3 separate regions of the Homo sapiens genome follow, and regions 2 and 3 are each linked to region 1. Evidence: promoter capture Hi-C in human tissues and cell types (Jung and others, 2019). All regions are on one chromosome and are shown on one strand. The core of a region is centred on a gene start or on the middle of the fragment in contact, and the rest is flanking DNA. Distances in the headings are between cores, read along the strand shown.

Evidence for each region. The method cuts DNA at HindIII sites, captures the fragments that hold promoters and counts their contacts. A contact is called where the count stands out against the background at its distance.
Region 2: a fragment that was not itself captured here is called in contact with the fragment with the promoter of GAL3ST1 in region 1 in 1 of the 25 tissues and cell types used here (IMR-90 fibroblasts).
Region 3: a contact is called between a fragment that was not itself captured here and the fragment with the promoter of GAL3ST1 in region 1, in 2 of the 25 tissues and cell types used here (bladder and lymphoblastoid cells).

Annotation. Positions count from the first base shown.
Region 1 is chr22:30,572,383-30,576,425 of GRCh38, forward strand. GAL3ST1 (galactose-3-O-sulfotransferase 1) reads right to left here and starts at 2,283. Exons shown (of 4, transcript NM_001318104.2): 1 at 2,084-2,283. RefSeq lists enhancers at 841-1,522, 1,523-2,203. The HindIII fragment of the contact is 15,540 bases long and covers 1-4,043 here.
Region 2 is chr22:30,532,275-30,535,882 of GRCh38, forward strand. SEC14L6 (SEC14 like lipid binding 6) reads right to left here. Exons shown (of 12, transcript NM_001193336.4): 3 at 1,722-1,765; 4 at 523-582; 5 at 251-439. Among named protein-coding and RNA genes, the nearest start is that of SEC14L6, 13 kb to the right of the region's middle. The HindIII fragment of the contact is 8,979 bases long and covers 1-3,608 here.
Region 3 is chr22:30,513,354-30,517,349 of GRCh38, forward strand. No RefSeq gene overlaps it. Among named protein-coding and RNA genes, the nearest start is that of SEC14L4, 9.7 kb to the left of the region's middle. The HindIII fragment of the contact is 7,876 bases long and covers 1-3,996 here.

The DNA of each region.
Region 1 (4,043 bases), core at 1,033-3,532:
TCCACCACCCCCCAAGCTGGGTGACCTTGGGCAAGTGACTTCCCCTCTCTGAGCCTTGGTTTCCTAAAAAATGGCAGGTACTATGATGCTTTCACAGGCCTGCTGTGAGGCACGCAGAGCCCTTCACACACTCAGCGTTAGCTCCTCTGATTGTATTGTGATCCTCCTAGATCCCACCTGGTAGGGGAAGCGGGCTCTGTCCAGACTTCTAGAAGGATACCATCCCCATCCAAGGAGCCAGAACTAGCAGGAGGGAAGGCAGGCATCTTCTGGGCCCCCACTTCCTCCCACCATCACCCCTCACCTGGAGATTCCAGCAGTCCCCAGCCTGATGACCCCCATGGGCACCTGTGTTCCATCCTGCTCTGCCCTGTTTGGAGTCGTGTGGAGCCCCTAAAAGGGCTCATCCATATTCCTCACCCAGTCAAAGTGAAGCAAGGAGCCCTTCAGGAGCCTGCAGCCGGGCCCAGAATTCCATTTGTGCATCATTCTCTCAGGTTAATCATTGCCTCTTTCACTGGATGGCACACCCAGTCCCTCAGAACACAGTGGGAGGGGCTGTGGGGGACACACTCCTCCCTTGCTGGGCGACAAGAGGGCATCGGACCCATTAAGGGAAGGGGATGCATGGGGACCAGGCATTCTCTGTCCGCAAGGAGCTTCCTCCAGGAAGGGCTCTGCCTGAGCAAGCAGGGAATAAAGCAGGCTGAGGTGGCAGCTGGGAACAGGGCTTCGTTGTCTCGGCTCCCGGGGTAGCAGCCTGCTCACCCGCTGAAGTGTCAGGCGGAGCTGGGAGCCAGGGAGGCGAGGGGGGGTGTCCAGAGCTGAGGGTTTGGGGCAGCCCAGGCAGATCCAAGAAGGCAGGACCCCAAAGGAGCAGAGAGAGGTCATGGGTTGGGCTGGGGTCCTGAAATGGGGGCCAGGGCAAGACTCCTATGATTTGGAGTCAGCTCAGCTACCTCTGAGCCATGTGACCTTGGACAAGTCATTGAATTTCCCTGAGCCTCAGTATCCCCCTCTGGATAATGGGGATAGGTAGCAATGCCTCCTTCACAGGACAAGGAACAGTGCGTACACAGTGACTGCTCTGGTCCAGGACTGCCCTCCTGTGCCCCCTGTGTGGGCCTGGATGAGCCTCACCCTCTCTGGGCCTCAGGTCACCCCGTCAGTAAAGGAAGAGATTGGGTTTTCCCAACTGGAATGGACAGTCCTCTACACCTCTCTCCCCTCTGGAGGATTCTCATGCACCTGTCACCGCGGCAGCCCGGGGATCAGGTGTCAGGCATGCTGCCTTCTCTCCCTTTCCTTCCCCCTGGTGTGGGTTACAGCAGCCAGACATGCCCATCACCTCTCTGGCTCTGGGCAGCTGGGCGGGGCAGTTCCCACTGGGCAGGGCTCGGTCTGTAGTGTGCTCTGTGCTGGTACCAAAATGCTGGCCTGGCACCGAAGGGGCAGATCAAGCTGGACCCCCTTCCTGGGCACTGGGCTAGGAAACAGGAACTGTAGGATTTCCTATAGGACCCCTCCTGGATGCCAGGGTTTGTCCCACTCTCCCAAACCTCTCCTTGGTGGCTTTGCTTCCTCTGGGGTACAGGCCAGGGCCTTCCCCCAGCAGAGGGGATCCATCCCTTACTATGGTCTCCGGTTCCTGCTCTGATCCCCTTTCTAGGAAGGGCTGATGGAGACAGGGGAGATCTCTGCCCCTCCTCCCCTAGGGCTCTGGCCACTGTGTCCAAGATTAATCATTAACGCACTCCCAGCTCCAGCTCAGCCCCAGCAGCCTGCCTTCTGCCCCACCCATCCCACCTTCAGGGACTGGGAAGCCCTGGAAGGGGGGTTGGGGGACAGGGGAAAAAACCAAGGGCATGGGGGGCACCAACCTGTGCCCTCCCTGGCCCCTACCAGGCCACCCTCTGGCAGTGGGCAGGGGTACCCAGCGCTTAGAACAGCGGTACTGCACTCCTACTCCCCTCCTCCGGCGCGTGGTCCCAGTTTGGGGGTTAGCGTAATGTGGGCGGTATCCCCAGGGAGTAGACTGAGGCAGGGCTCAAGCTGGCAGTGGGTGCTGGAGCCCGGGACGTACCTTGTCCCCGTCCTCCTCCGCCTCAGCGTGGCTGGCTCGGCCCGGGCCGCGCCGCCCGGGCGCTCACTGGGCGGCGGGGCGCACCCGGCCGGGCCCCCCGCTCCACCAGGCCTGGTCCATGCCCCCGCCCCCGCCGCCGCTGCCGCGCCGCGCCCGCTCCCGCGCCGCGCCCGCTCCCGGCCAGGTGCCGCCGCCAGCCTGGCCCAGCCTCCGGCGCCGGGGCCAATGGACGCCCCGGACCCCAGACCCCTCCCCGCCCCGGGCCGGCCCCCTCCCCGCCCCATCCCGGCCCCTCTGCGCCCGCCCGAGACGCACAGAAGCCGCATTCAGCGCGCTGGGGCGCAACGCTGCGCCCCCGCCGCCGGCCCAACAAGGCCCGTTTGTCTCGGACGCGCCAACGGGGCCATTGTCCCGCCCCGGTCCTCTGGCTCAACGGAGCCCCCAGCCCAGAAGACTTGAGGATGCCCAGGCTTGGTGGTGGTGGGGAGGGGAGCCAGGGCTCTGGGAAAAAGGCGGCGGACGGACTATTGCTTAACTTTGGTTGGGGGGTCCTGGGGCCCTTAGGATCCAATGGATCATACGGCTTCTTGCTCTAGTCAGTGCCAACTGGGGACGACACATTTTTGGCACTCATGGGAGTGGAGGGAGCTCAAGCAAGAGACTGAGCTCCAACTGGTCCTGTCACCTGGAGGTCTCAGCTGTCACTCTCTAGGGTGCCAATGAGGGCTGAGCAAGGCCACCAGGAGGCAGGTGTCCCATCCAGGCCCTGTCTCATTTTCCAGGCCTGGCCTTTCCTTCTTCACCCCAGAGGAGCAAGACCATGGATGAGGACCAATGCCTGCCAGGGGCCAGGAATCCTCAGCGCCAGCTGTGGGCAGTAAGGAACCAGCTGGCCACCCAGTGGGGCCTGGGATGCGTCAGAGCCCCACTGCCCCCGCCATTACTGGGCGATTCTGGAATGGGGAAAATTCCACATCAGCATGGCTGCCAGGAATTTTTCCGTATCTGATGGGCCTGCGCTCTAGCCGTGTGGCCCTGGATGCACAGTTCCCCAGACAGGCCTGAGTTGTCTCCCGGGGCTGCAGGCTCTGGCTCCAGAGGTCCTGACCCTCTGTCCCAGCCTCTGGAGGCAACCTCACTCCCTCCCATCGCCGTGTGCATGACAGAGTGGGAATGGCACACAGCCCTCTCCTTCCACCCACAGCCAGTCCCAGCTGAGAGGGGGAGCCCTAGGTTTTCTGCTCCCCAGGCCAGAGCCTGCCCAAGCTCTTGCCTTCCCCCTGCACAGGTTGGACCTACATCCACTGCCACAAAAACATTCTCTGCCCACACAGCCAGCAAACAGTGAGAGGCAGAGGGCAAGGCCCTCAGGTGCCTAGATTCAGGGAAAGTAGAGCCATTCCAAACCCACACTTCCTCAGCGTGGCCCCAACCCTCGACAGCACTCACCCCGGGAAGTGAGTCCTGGGAGGGGCTGAGTGAGCACTGGGAGACCCAGGTTGTGGTCCTGGCTCCATCATGATGCACTGGCGGTTCCAGGCAAAGGCATATCCCAATGGGCGTCAGCAGGGACACTGCCAAGGTCAGCGGGGAAGCTGTCAGGCAGGCCTCACAGACCGTAAGTGCAGCTGCTGCGGAATCCTACGCTGGGAGGTACTCAGCGGTTCTGCCAACGCGCCAAGGCAAGCTGAGGGCAGGACCTCACCGCAGACCCACAGATCCTTCCGGTTCTGGCTTTTACCTTCTGGGCCGAGTCCAGCAGGAAGTGATATAAATCAGTTGGTGTTTACCAAGTACTTACCACACACCTGATATTACCAAGTCCATAAGGTCTGAGACTATAAAGTTATCACAGAACCCTCAACACATCCCTTTCAAAGAACAGAATCTCTACCAGTAACTGACACATGAGGAAGCAGGTGCAGAGGGAAAATGCCTGGGTTAGAATGTGAACCATGGT
Region 2 (3,608 bases), core at 906-3,405, 40 kb before region 1:
GCTGCAGAGGGCAGTGTGGCCCAGTGGATTGAGTGGGCTTTGGGGCCAATTGGGGGAGAAATGATTCCCAGTTCAGCCACATACTGTGTGGCCTTGGGTGGGTCCTTGGCCTCTCTGAACCTGCATTCACTCCACAGTACCAGGAGGAGCCGAGGAGCCCAGGAGCCCAGGAAGGCAGATTCTGGGTGTGAGGCTCAGGGGGTGAGGGTGCTGTGTCCGGCTGCAGCTGCCCAGGGTGGCACCCACACACCTTCTGACTCTGCAGCTCACACTCCCGCAGGAGCAGCTCGCAGCTCCGGAAGCTGTCCCTGAGCAACTCCTGTTTGGAGGCTGAGAGCAAGAGGCCTTTGGGGTCCAGGCTTCCCACAATGTGGTACCAGACAGGGCTGCCCTCACCGTCGTGGCCGCATATGCCGTTAGCGTTGTACAGCCTGACCACCTGGATGCATACACAGGAGACGGGGGTTCAGTGCCGAGGGCTGAGGGCCCAGGGATCAGGGTATGGGTTTGAGAGATGCTCACCTCTGGGGGCTGCCAGGCAAGGATGTTGGCCAGGTCTTGTTGCTTCCGGAACTCCATATGCTGCAGAGACACGGCAGGAGGTGGTGAAGATTCTGCCTGTCCCAAAGACCTCTGTGGATACCTGGGGACACCAGGCCAGGTCCCTCTGCCTGCAACCACTAAGGGCCTGCCAGAGCATCCCCAGGCTCCACTGACATAGAACTGGGGGATGGAAACAGGATGGGGATGGAAGGGGACATGCATCTGAGAGGCCAGGAGAGACCTAGAAAGGGACAGGGGAGGCCTGCACTCTGCAGCTGTCTCCCCCTGCATCCTTCCAGATGTTTCCCATGCCCCCTCCCGCATGGCTGCCCTGGGAGTCAGACTCTACTTCCTGACTTCCAGTTGCCCTTAAGCAAAAACCTATACCCCCCTACAAGGCCTGCAGAGCCTGGCTGATGTGTTGGGGCCACCCTGTAACCTCATCACTTCCCCTTCTCTCTCCAACACGATCTCCGTGTGCTCCTAGAATATACCAGCTCAGGCCAGGCACAATGTCTCACGCCTGTAATCCCAGCATTTTGGGAGGCCAAGGTGGGTGGATCACCCGAGGTCAGGAGTTCAAGACCAGCCTGGCCAACATGGTGAAACCCTGTCTCTACTAAAAATACAAAAATTAGCTGGGTGTGGTAGTGCATGCCTGTAATCCCAGCTACTTGGGAGGCTGAGGCAGGAGAATTGCTTAAACCTGGGAGGCGGAGGTTGCAGTGAGCTAAGATCACGTCATTATACTCCAGCCTGGGTGACAGAGCAAGACTGTCTCAAAAAAAAAAAAAAAGAATACACCAGCTCATTCCCACCTCAGGGCCTTTGCATGAGCTGTGCTCTTCACCCTGATCTTCACATGCTTGCTTCCTTTTGGGCATTCATGTCCCTGCTGAAATGTCCCTGACCTCTCTTCCCTCCTTCCCTGTTTTGCTGTCTTCATTGTACTTTCCATTCTCAGGAATTGTCTTCTTTGTTCCTCTGGTTTCTTTTTCTCTCTTCCCATCACGGCAGTCTCCCCAGCGCCTAGCACCAGGCCAGGTTTACCTTCCAGTCTCAATGAATGGGTGTTCCATGAATGAATGAATGGATGGATGAATGAATGAATAAATTTGTGCCTCAGACTTGGGATAGGAAACAGGACCAGGCTAGGCAGGGGGAGGTGTCAACCTCACCTTCCTCAGCATGTCCTCTGATTTCTGCAGGTCAAAGCTCCGAGCTGCAACAAGAGACAGGGTTATGGTTGTGGAATTCTAGAGGCTCACTCCAGGCTTCTGGAGAGACAACGGCCCTGCCCCACCCTCCAGGCCAGCTTTGTCTCCTGTTACCCAGAGGGCCTTGTTCTTGACCTGGGGAGCCACAATGGCTGAGATATCCGGAGACCCAGGAACACTGGACACAGGCTCCTTGATTCCCTGGGCATGCCCCTTGGTGGGCCTTGGGGCCCTTTTCCTGTTGTTCCAGAAAAGTCATTGAGACAGCAGACCCTCAGAATCTGTCAGAATCATAAGGCTGAGAATTGTTTAAATCAGCAGATCACAAACATTTTGGCCTCAGGAGCCCTTAATACTCTTTAATTTTTACTTAAAAAAAATTTTTTTTTTTTTTTGAGAAGGAGTCTCCCTCTGTCACCCAGGCTGGAGTGCAGTGGCATGATCTTGGCTCACTGCAACCTCTGCCTCCCGGGTTCAAGTGATTCTCCTGCCTCAGTCTCCTGAGTAGCTGAGATTACAGGCACCCACCACCACGCCTGGCTAATTTTTGTATTTTAGTAGAGATGGGGTTTCACCATGTTGGTCAGGCTGGTCTCGAACTCCTTACCTCAAATGATCCGCCTGCCTCACCCCCCAGAATGCTGGGATTAAAGGTGTGAGCCACTGTGCCCAGCCCCCTTAATACTCTTTAAAAAAATCACCAAACTCATCTGGGAACTATGGCTCATGCCTATAATCCCAGCATTTTTGGAGGCCAAGGTGGGCAGATCACCTGAGGTCAGGAGTTCGAGACCAGCCTGGACAACATAGTGAAATCTCGTCTGTACTAAAAGTACAAAAATTAGCTGGGCATGGTGGTGGGCACCTGTAATCCCAGCTACTTGGGAGGCTGAGGCAGGAGAATCACTTGAACCCAGGAGGTGGAGGTTGCAGTGACATTGCTTGAGCCTAGGGGTTCGAGACCAGCCTAGGCAACATAGTGAGACTCTGTCCCTATAAAAAGAAAAAAAAAAGAAAAGAAAAATTATATATAAGTTTGCCTAATGGCCATGGTGAGATTATGGGTGATTTATAGAAATATCATTTTGTTTTTCTTTTTCTATACCTTCCAGATTTTCCATGATAAATGGGCTCTGATTTCATAATCAGAAAAACACCCAGTGGATGTTATAAACAAATGGGAGTGAGGTCCTAGCGGCCCCAGCAGGCTGTCAAAGCAGTCCTCTGCCCTGAGCCCAGCCTTAGCTGGGCTGTCACCCAGCTTTCTAAGAGTCAGCCTGGTCCATTGGCTCACTGGCTTTGCAGCAGCACTTCTGCTGAGAGCCTCTGGCTGGTGAGAACCAAGTGGTTTCACTTGGTCCCCAGGGCCTTGGGGAGTAGTTCTCACATTGATTTCATCTGGGCATCATAACAACCATGAAAGCTGCCAGTGGCGGGGAGAGAGTCTTGTTCCCTATAAACAGATGAGGAAACTGAGGGCCCAACAGAAGGGGGCCATAGGCCCCAGGTCTCATGCTGCTAGTAAGAGGCAGAGCGGGGACTAGACGCCTGTCTTTGGAACTCCAATCGGGACTCTTTTTTGATTTGGTGGCAGTTTAAAGACATTCTAGTTAGAAGAAATGGTACTGAGCAAAGATGAGCTAGGAAACCCTGTTGGCTACTATGTCATAGCTTTTGTTTGTTTATTTGTTTTTGAGACAAGGTTTTGCTCTGTCACCCAGGCTGGAGTGCAGTGGCACAACCATAGCTTACTGCAACCTCAACTTCCCAGGCTCAAGTGATCCTCCTACCTCAGCCTCCCCAGTAGCTGGGAACACAGGCAGGCAACACCACGCCTGGCTAAGTTTT
Region 3 (3,996 bases), core at 268-2,767, 60 kb before region 1:
CTAGTCCCTGGTACTTTAGAACGTGACCTTACTTGGAAACAGGTCATTGCAGATGTAATTAGCGGTCGTATGGGAGTAGAGTGGGCCTCTAGTCCAGTATGTCCTTATAAATGGTGCCATTTGGATGCACATGGGGAGACACGCACATAGGGAGAACATCATGTGAAGATGAAAACAGATTGTGGAGTGATGCATCTATAATACAAGTCAAGGGGCGCCAAAGATTACTGGCCAACCATCAGAAGCTAGAGGAGAGGTGGTAAACGGAGTCTTCCTCACAATCCTTAGCAGGAACCAACCCTGCTGACACCTTGATCTTGGACTTCCAGCCTCCAGAATTCTGAGAATAAAATTCTGTTGTTCAGGCTGCTCAGTGTGGGGCACTGTGTTACATACAGCAGTCCTAGGGCACTAATAGGATGAGTGGTTGCCATATAGGATAGTGCAGCGTTAGTGCATTTAATCCTCCTCACTGTGCTGTGCAGTCGGGCTGGGAAACTGAAGCTCGAAGAGCCTCCTGAGTCTCATATCCAGCAAGCAGCAATGCCAGGACCGGAGCCCTGGCACTTGTCACTATGCCATGTCCTTCTGCGGGCTGAGCTCCCCTGGTTTTAGGTCACCCTCATGTCCCCCTCTATTCAATACAGGGCAGACATCCTCCCCTGAGCCTGCAGCACAAAGATGCTTCCTTCAAACCTCAGCTGTTGCCGGGCATGGAGAACTTTAGTTCTAACCATCTGGGCGCCAGTGCTTTGGGGGGCAGATAACGCCTCTCTTACGTGGTGTGCCCTTCTCTTTCAGCCTTCCGAAATGTGGCTCATGCCCACAGTCCCTCCTGACCCGTGAGCTGAGAAGCTGGACTGTGATGATGGTGCTCTCATGGTATGCAACCTGCATCCCACATCTTAATGCCCATGCACTGTGATGCCTCTCACTCCCACCTTCCAAGTGTTCCTAAAATTTCTGGCATTGTTCATTTGCCACAGGTCCCATGCTGACAGCCCTCATTAAAGCCGGTGGCCTGCCAACTGAAGAGAACTCCCTGGGGTGAATGACATGCATTGTGGGAAGTGAAATGGGCCTTTGCCCTACATCAAAGCTGTATCAGCCGCTCCCTGAGTCTGTCTTGACCAGACAGATCCCACTGGATGCTGCTCCAACTGTGTTGGACTTGGCTTGAGTGACTCTGGAGAGAGGGCTGGGAGGAAGCTGCCTGACACAGGTGCCCGGGGCAGGGCGGCAGCCTCTCACCTGGGCCTGACTGGGAGGTGGAAATGAGGCTCTGGGGCCTAATCAGAAGGAGTTTTCTTAGCTCCCCTCACCAACCCAGGGTGACCTCAGGGAAAGAAGAGGCCTGGTGTGGCCATGCCCTCCCTACTTCCCCAAGGAAGGGAGATGGCCGCTAGGGCCTGGAAGAGAGAGGGATGGGGAAGGGGAACCTAGCCAGCTGCCCTAAAGTCCTGGGACCAGGGGAAAAGGTGGATTAGGGTTCAGGGGCCCTAGGGCCACACTTGGACTTCTTTCTTTCCCTACAAAAGCAGGAGTAGGGGGGTGCAGTGGCTCATGCCTATAATCCCAGCACTTTAGGAGGCCAAAGCAGGAGGCTTGCTTAAGGCCAGAAGTTTGAGACTAGCCTGGGCAACATAGTGAGACTGCGTCTCCTCAAAAAGAAGAAAAAAAAAATTAGCCAATAGAGTAGAAAGCACCTATAGTCCCAACTACTTGGAGGTCTGAGGTGAGAGGCTCACTTGAGCCCAGGAGTTCGAGGCTGCAGCGAGCTATGATTGTGCCGCTGAACTCCAGCCTGGGCAACAGAACAAGACCCTGTCTCAAAAAAAAAAAGGCCAGATGCAGTGGCTCACTTCCGTAATCCCAGCACGTTGGAATGCTGAGGTAGGTGGATCACCTGAGGTCAGGATTTTGAGACCAGCCTGGCCAACATGGCGAAACCCCATCTCTATTAAAAATACAAAAAATTAGCCAGGCATGGTGGTGGGTGCCTGTAATCCCAGCTACTTGGGAGGCTGAGGCAGGAGAATCACTTGAACCCGGGAGGCGGAGGTTGCAGTGAGCTGAGACCGAGCCATTGCACTCCAGCCTGGGCAACAAGAACAAAACTCCATCTCAAAAAAGAAAAGAAAAAGCCAGGAGGTCCCTGGCCTTTCCCAAGCCACAGTACACCAGGTCAGGAGTATATGGGGCCATTTAATCTCTCCTTGCTGCTGCCTCCTACCACAAGGCCTTTGGACATGCTGTTCCCTCTGACTTGAACACTCCTCCCTCATCTCCCTGCACACCGCCTAGTTAGTGGCACCTCACATCCTCAGACCTCCTGGTTAAATGGTCAAACAGACCCTACTCCTCTTTTTCAGAGTATGATCTTCATTAGGCATTGTTTGTGGTGACTGTTTGACTCACCCCGTTAACTCTCACCACATTTGCCATGCTCATCGTGGTACCCATGATCCTACTTTACAGATGCAGAGACTGAGCTTCTGGGGCTGGTAACAGCCTGAGCCAGGATTTGAACCCTTATCCATTTGCATCCAAGGCCTCTTGTCCTTAATCACCACACTATCCTGGCTCCCTGAAGATAATGTGTTCCGGAAGAGGTCTAAGCAACAGCACTGCACTGGGGGCTCCTGGAATGTCTCCCAAAGGAGATGGCATTTAGGATGGGCCTCTAAGGTAGAAAGGGGAGGAGGACATTCTGGGTAGAGGTGACCACCCAAAGAAACTCACAGAGGTAAGAGAGAGGAGAAACGTCACGAAGGCAGCAAGCTTGAAAACATTGAGGGGAGGTCACCAAGGAACTTCAGGCCATGCTGCGGGCTTTGGGCCATCCCTTCTCAGTGGTGGGGAGCCATGGAAGGTTTCAAAGGAAGAGACCAATGTGATTCCACCTGTGCCTGGAAGATAACCATGGGCCCGATCTGAAGAATGACCTGGGAATAGCGGACATTCAGAGCAGGGAAACTGGTCTGAAGCCTGTTGCAAAGATTCATGGTGGGTGTGAGGAGGAGCAAGCAGTGGGCGGGGAGAGGTCAGCGCCTCACCTTTGCTCCACACCAGATCTCTATCAGCAAGCTCGCTCAGGGAGTATCAAGGGCTGGGTATTGTTTGGTACCTGGTCTGTGGACATTATGTTCTACCTGTAAATTACAAATACATTACAGCTGATTGTTTTGAGCACTTCAGATAACTTGGATGCAGGGCAGGCAAGTCCTAAAGTGGGGCTTAGCCTTTGAGGGTTCTTGACTTTGCACAGGAAAGAATTCAAGGGCAAGCTGGAGGTAGAAGAAAACAGCTTTATCGAAGAGGCAGTGTTGTAGGTCTGTGACTGCCCCTGCAGAGTGGGGCTACCCCATAGGCAGGGAGTAGCAGCCCAGGACAGTTTTGCAGTCACATTTATACCCACTTTTAATAACATGCGGACCAAGGGGTAGTTTATGCAGAAATTTCTAGGGAAGGGGTAGTAACTTTTGGGTCATGGGGTCATTGCCATGGAAAGGGGCGGTAACTCCCAAGTGTTGTTATGGCAATGGTAAACTGATATGGCACACTGATGGTCATGTCTGATGGAACGCTGCTTCCACTCCAGCCCTGTTTTAGCTTGTCCTCAATTTGGTCCAGTGTCCAAGCCCTGCCCCTGGAGTCGAGTCCCGTCTCCTACCTCACTTTAAACAGCAAATGCAGAGATCCAATGGCCCCCAGATTAGTACTATACTTATATTTAAACCTGTTCCTAAACATCCCACCTGAAATTAATCTGTGGATTGACTCTTTCTGTTCTACTTTTATACCTTCCTACAGTGTAGTCACATGGTTACAGTGTAGGGTTACAGCTGCACACTTTGACATCTTCCTTGAGTTTCAAAATTAGCATTTTACTATTTTGTTGGAATTGTTATCTGAATAGGCCCAACTGAAACAAAATTGGCATTAGACATTTCTTGGTGTTACAACTCCAAGTTATTAACCAATTAACTCTACATT